Linked DNA regions of Homo sapiens: region 1 is linked to region 2. The links are contacts of gene promoters, found by promoter capture Hi-C in human tissues and cell types (Jung and others, 2019). All regions are on one chromosome and are shown on one strand. Each heading gives the region's core, a stretch centred on a gene start or on the middle of the fragment in contact. The rest is flanking DNA. Distances are from core to core; before and after follow the strand shown. Region 1 overlaps UBR1 (ubiquitin protein ligase E3 component n-recognin 1). Region 2 holds the start of ITPKA (inositol-trisphosphate 3-kinase A).

Region 1 (3,040 bases), core at 483-2,982, 1.5 Mb after region 2:
CAGGTGCTGGAGAGGATGTGGAGAAATAGGAACACTTTTACACTGTTGGTGGGACTGTAAACTAGTTCAACCATTGTGGAAGTCAGTGTGGCGATTCCTCAAGGATCTAGAACTAGAAATACCATTTGACCCAGCCATCCCATTACTGGGTATATAACCAAAGGACTATAAATCATGCTGCTATAAAGACACATGCACACGTATGTTTATTGCGGGACTATTCACAATAGCAAAGACTTGGAACCAACCCAAATGTCCAACAACGATAGACTGGATTAAGAAAATGTGGCACATATACACCATGGAATACTATGCAGCCATAAAAAAGGATGAGTTCATGTCCTTTGTAGGGACATGGATGAAATTGGAAATCATCATTCTCAGTAAACTATTGCAAGGACAAAAAACCAAACACCATATGTTCTCACTCATAGGTGGGAATTGAACAATGAGAACACATGGACATAGCAAGGGGAACATCACACTCTGGGGACTGTTGTGGGGTGGGGGGAGGGGGGAGGGATAGCATTTGGAGATATACCTAATGCTAAATGATGAGTTAATGGGTGCAGCACACCAACATGGCACATGTATACATATGTAACTAACCTGCACATTGTGCACATGTATCCTAAAACTTAAAGTATAATAATAATAAAATAAAATAAAAAAAAAATTATGTGCTAAAGAATGACATCATATTTTTTAAATTTGAAGCCATTTAAAAGATAGCTCTCAGCCGGGCATGGTGGCTCATGCCTGTAATCCCAGCACTTTGGGAGGCTGAGGTGGGTAGATCACTTGAGGTCAGGAATTCCAGACCAGCCTGGCCAAGATGGTGAAACCCTGTCTCTACTAAAAATACAAAAATTAGCTGGGCATAGTGGCACATGCCTGTAGTCCCAGCTACTCGGGAGGCTGAGGTGGGAGATTCACTTGAACCCAGGAGGCAGAGGTTGCAGTGAGCTGAGATAGCGCCACTGCACTGTAGCCTGGGTGAAACAGGGAGACTCTGTCTCCCAAAATAAATAAATAAATAAATAATAAAAATAAAAAGTAGCTCTCAATTACTTTTTTTTTTTTTTAGACAGAATCTCCCTCTGTTGCCCAGGCTGGAGTGCAGTGGGCGATCTTGGCTCACTGCAACCTCCTGGGTTCAAGTGATTCTCCTACCTCAGCCTCCCAAGTAGCTGCGATTACAGGCATGCACCACCATGCCCAGCTAATTTTTGTATTTTTAGTAGCGACGGGTTTTCACCATGTTGGCCAGGCTGGTCTCAAACTCCTGGCCGCAAATGATCTGCCTGCTTCGGCCTCCCAAAGTGCTAGGAATACAGGTATAAGCCACGGTGTCTGGCCTCAATTACCTTTTGTGATTAAAGAACTATTACCGTTTACATACAATAATGTGACTGAAATAGAAAACAATCAACATAAAAGAGAACTTACTGAAACCTTCCTATTATATAAAAAAAATCTTACTTCAGGCCAGGGTCTGTTTCTCCATATTCATCCAAGTAAGGAGCTGGATAGGCACAGCCTCTGGCTTTACCTTCAACCAGGACCACTCGGCATTCTCTGATTCTGAAAGAGAAAATCAATAGGAAATATGGTTAAGTGTATGTGTGCAAATGATAGGCACTGCATCAATGTTAACCTAGAGAAAAGACGTGGCCAATATCTGTTAGATATTCAGTAAAAAGACAATATAAACAGACAAATAGACTAAATTATGTTTTGTCTAAATAAAAGAGAACACTTATTGCTATTTCTGTTGAAGCTATAGAAAAGGAGCAGTGGATTTGGTGAAATGAGATCATTTATACTGACGGAATCTGTTGAAGGGAGGAAACTGTCCTACTTCAGCCACAGACACCTTGGAAAATGGTGGCTGGGGTTGTTTCTATTCTAATTCCTGACACAACCTGGAGAGGGGAGGGAACCTCACAGAAGAACAGAATCACATCTCCTAGTCTGATAACCTCAAGCCAGACAGAATATCAACTAGGGAAGTATGCCAGCTTTTCTGGTTAGAGCTGGCCTGAAACACTGCAGATTAAAAGAGCCACTACCACCCTGAAGGCACCTGGGACTTTTATGTCTCTTGGGAAATAGACATAAAAAAGGCTTGCGTACACATATATGGGGGATAAGTACTTTACAGATAAATTATAAAATAAACAGCTGGGATAAGGTAGTGGGTTTACTTGCTGTGGGTTCCCTAAAAATAGGTGTTTGGGTTTGGCTTCCATACATTCTTTCCCCTTGGTTCAAAAGATGCCTATGAACAATGATTACATATTTCACAGTTAGAAAGACATTTGGCTTTATGTAACAGAAACTGTGTTACATGAGGAGAGTGGAAAGAAAAAGGATATATATCCACTTTGAATTTTATTTCTCTGCAGGCAACTTAAACTCTTTTTTCATAAATATAAGTGACTATTTTTCTTTTTTTTCCCAGATAGAGTCTTGCTCTGTCAACCAGGCTGGAGTGCAGTGGTGTAATCTCGGCCTACTGCAACCTCCACCTCCCAGGTTCAAGCGAATTCTCCTGCCTCAACCTTCTGAGTAGCTTGGATTACAGGCATGCGCCACCACGCCCAGCTAATGTTTGTCTTCTTAGCAGAGATGGGGTTTCACCACGTTGGCCAGGCTGGTCTTGAACTCCTGACCTTGTGATCTACCTGCCTCGGGCCTCCCAAAGTGTTGGGATTAAAGGCGAGAGCCACCGCGCCCGGCCATAAGTGACTATTTTTCTATCCTCAATCTTTTGCTGAAAGACCAGGAGAAATGGTGGGTTGATAGATGAAATAAAGATATCACAGGACAATCTAAAGTAAAAATTTACATGTACTTTTTTTTTTGATAGAGGATCTCACTCTGTTGCCCAGGCTAGAATGCAATGGCACGATCATGGCCTTGAACTCCCAGGCTCAAGCAGCCCATCCACCTCAGCCTCTCAAGTAGCTGGGACTGCAGCCATGTGCTACCATGCCTGGCTAATTTTTTATAGAGATGGGGGTCTCGCCTTGCTGCC
Region 2 (3,194 bases), core at 433-2,932:
CCTCTCACCTCAGCCTCCTAAGTAGCTGGGACCACAGGTGCATGCCACCACACTCAGCTTTTTTTTTTTTTTTTTTTTTTTTTTTTGAGACAAGTTATCACTCTGTTGCCCAGGCTAGAGTGTGGAGTGTGGTGGTGGAGTGTGGTGGTGATCTCAGCTCACTGCAGCCTCGACCTCCCAGGCTCAAGTGATCCTTCCACTTCAGCCTCTCCCCGAGTAGCTGAGACTACAAGTGCACACCACCACACCTGCCTAATATTCTGTATTTTTAGTAGAGACAGGGTTTTGCCATGTTGCCCAGGCTGGTCTCGAACTCCTGGGATCAAGCAATCTGCCCGCCTTGCCCTCCCAAAGTGCTGGGGTTACAAGCCTGAGCCACTATGCTTTGCCGAAGATTCCCGTCTTCCCACTGAACCTTCTTCTTTCCTTCTCCTGGGCCATTCCTGAGCCCTGGCTGAGGGGAGAGAAGGGAAGGAAAGCCCCTCCTGCGGCCATCTCAGCATCCAAGGCAATCCTTCTGGGGCTGCTCTGTCTCCAGGGCCCCAGCCATCCCCAGACACTGAGTGCCTGAGGGGGGACCCTCACTCCTGTGGCACTATGGTAAGATAGGAAACAGTGGCTTCTCCTCAAAGCAGCCTCGCCGGTCGGTCAGCTGACTACCAACATGGGAAGTGGCCGAAGATCCACATGGAATGACACTGATAAGCACTTTGCAGTGTCTGAAACTCTTAAACATCAGTGCTGTCTTCCTAGTTTTACAGACACAACTCTGTGGGTTGGATGAGGTTTTTCTAAATGTACAAATGCAGAAATATACGGAGGGAGTAAAGGGACTGCCTACAAATCACATCTAGAGTGTGGTGTACCTGATTTCAAGTCTTTTATTTTATTCTCGCAGCAACGGGAGAATCCGCAGTCGAGGGAGGTGAAATGACTTGCTGAACGCCACACGGCGGACTCCAAGCCCCGAGCTCCTATAACAGAGGAGGAGGAAGGCGGGCTCAGCTCCTGCCACCCAGCAGCGGGGGAGATGCAGCCCGGGACTAGGCTGGGCCATGGGGACAGATCCAGGCCCCGCCCCCTGACCTTGTTCTCTGCCCGCCGGGAAGTGGGGAACTTGCGGGGAGCAGCCTCAGCTAGTCCCTGGGGCAGAGTCTCCACTTGGGTGCACGCCCTGGGGTGGGGCTTCTTCGGGAAGCCGGGGGCCTTCAACTCTGCTCAGGAGCTCGGGCCGGAGAAAGGCCCCGAGACTTGAAGCCCTTGCCCGGGAGGGATGAACACGCAAAGGAACCCGAGGAACGGGGTAGGGGACCAAGAGTAGGACCAGCTTCTCCTGCGCGGGGACAGGGCCTGTGGAGCGGCCTGGAGGAATCTCTCCCAGCCGCGAAGCCCGGGAAGGCTGCGAGGCCCCAGCGCGGAGCGGCCCCTCCCACCTCCCCGAGGGCAGGCGGAGCGAAGCCTCGGGGCCCGGGCCCAGGTTTTGTGCCTACGGAGGCTGGACTTCCCCGCCACCCCGAGGAGTCACCGAGAGCCTTCTCTCCCTCGCAGGGGCCCTGGGAGGCCCGCGCTTTCTCTGAAAGTGGAAGGAGTGGGCGGGGGGCGCGGCCGAGGCGGGGCGCGGGCGTGCAGCGGCGCAGGCTCCGCCCCGGGGCCGTCTCCAGCCGGGGGCGCCGAGCCGCTCCAGTCCCCGGCGCGCCGCGGGCTGGTGGGCTCAGCGGCGGCGCCGGCACTGGGAAATGACCCTGCCCGGGGGCCCAACGGGCATGGCGCGGCCGGGGGGCGCGAGGCCCTGCAGCCCGGGGCTGGAGCGGGCCCCGCGCCGGAGTGTCGGGGAGCTGCGCCTGCTCTTCGAGGCGCGCTGTGCGGCGGTCGCTGCGGCCGCCGCCGCGGGGGAGCCCCGGGCCCGCGGGGCCAAGCGGCGTGGGGGACAGGTCCCCAACGGGCTTCCGCGGGCTCCCCCGGCCCCGGTGATCCCTCAGCTGACCGTGACAGCCGAGGAGCCCGACGTGCCCCCGACCAGCCCTGGGCCGCCGGAGCGGGAGAGGGACTGCCTCCCGGCAGCGGGCTCTTCGCACCTGCAGCAGCCGCGCCGCCTTTCCACCTCGTCGGTCTCCTCCACTGGCTCCTCGTCGCTGCTCGAGGACTCGGAGGACGACCTGCTGAGCGACAGTGAGAGCCGGAGCCGCGGCAACGTGCAGCTGGAAGCGGGCGAGGACGTGGGTCAGGTACGGGCCGCGGGGGCGGGGCCAGCGCCGGGCGCGGGGGCTGCACGGGGGACCTGGCTGGGTGCTCCCGGAGGACCCGCTCCTGTCCATGCTCCCTCCAGCGGAAGGTCCTGTTCTCGCGGTTTAGGAGGAATCTGGGGGTCAGAGGGAGGCGCCTGGCCGACCTCTCGCCTGGGCAACTTTCACCTCGGCTCCGCCGGCGGGTCGTGGCGCTGGCCCTGGGGCGTCTAAGAAGCGGGGCGAGGAGCAGGCGACCCGCCGCGGGGACTGGGCGAAGCGGGGGTAGCGGACCTTGTTGGCTGTGGGTTAGGACAGGAGGGATCGGAGGGGCTGAGCCTTGCCGGGTGAACCCTCGGAAGGAGAGAGGCGAAGGAGAGTTTCCCTTACCCCCCGCCCCCTCTCCGGTGCCGCGGCCGCACCCCCGCCGTTGCCACGGTTTCCCTCTCCTGAGTGGGAGTGGAGCGGCGCTCCAGGCTCTGCTCGGGAGCCGCTGCCGTCTGCTCCCAGCGCCCGCACGAGGCGTGGACGCAGGGGAGGGAGGGGCGTGGGCCTGGGAGCTCTGGCTGGGAGCGGAACGCAGCCCACCCAGTGCGCGCCCTGCCTCCCATCTTCCCGGCTCGCCGCTCCTGAGCGCGGCAGAGAGGGGCGGTAAACTGAGGCTGCAAGGGGGCAGGATCACTCTGCTAGTCTCTGCCTCTGATAGCCTGGGTGTTCTGGGACCAGGTCTGACCCTCGGAAAACACAGCCCTGGGCACTGTTAAGTCATTCCTGACGCCCGCCACTTAGGGATGTGCGGCTCCCGGGACACCCTCCTTGTTCCCCTCGTTTTAACCAAGGCCAAATACCTTGAATAACTGTCCGTGGTCAGCGCGAAGGACTTTCTTTAGATCCACGTTTCGCAAGTGTCCCTGAGGCCGAGGAAGAGGCGAGGGGCGCCCCCGGCCTCGGGCGTCTGGGGCCTGCCCATAA

Evidence for each region. The method cuts DNA at HindIII sites, captures the fragments that hold promoters and counts their contacts. A contact is called where the count stands out against the background at its distance.
Region 1: a fragment that was not itself captured here is called in contact with the fragment with the promoter of ITPKA in region 2 in 1 of the 25 tissues and cell types used here (dorsolateral prefrontal cortex).

The regions. Positions count from the first base shown.
Region 1 is chr15:42,948,780-42,951,819 of GRCh38, forward strand. It overlaps UBR1 (ubiquitin protein ligase E3 component n-recognin 1), which reads right to left. Exons shown (of 47, transcript NM_174916.3): 46 at 1,483-1,584. Among named protein-coding and RNA genes, the nearest start is that of TTBK2, 30 kb to the left of the region's middle. The HindIII fragment of the contact is 4,048 bases long and covers 1-3,040 here.
Region 2 is chr15:41,492,192-41,495,385 of GRCh38, forward strand. It overlaps ITPKA (inositol-trisphosphate 3-kinase A), which reads left to right and starts at 1,683. Exons shown (of 7, transcript NM_002220.3): 1 at 1,683-2,225. The coding sequence starts at 1,737. RefSeq lists enhancers at 585-1,085, 1,086-1,586 and silencers at 1,323-1,942, 1,963-2,142, 2,253-2,302. The HindIII fragment of the contact is 23,030 bases long and covers 1-3,194 here.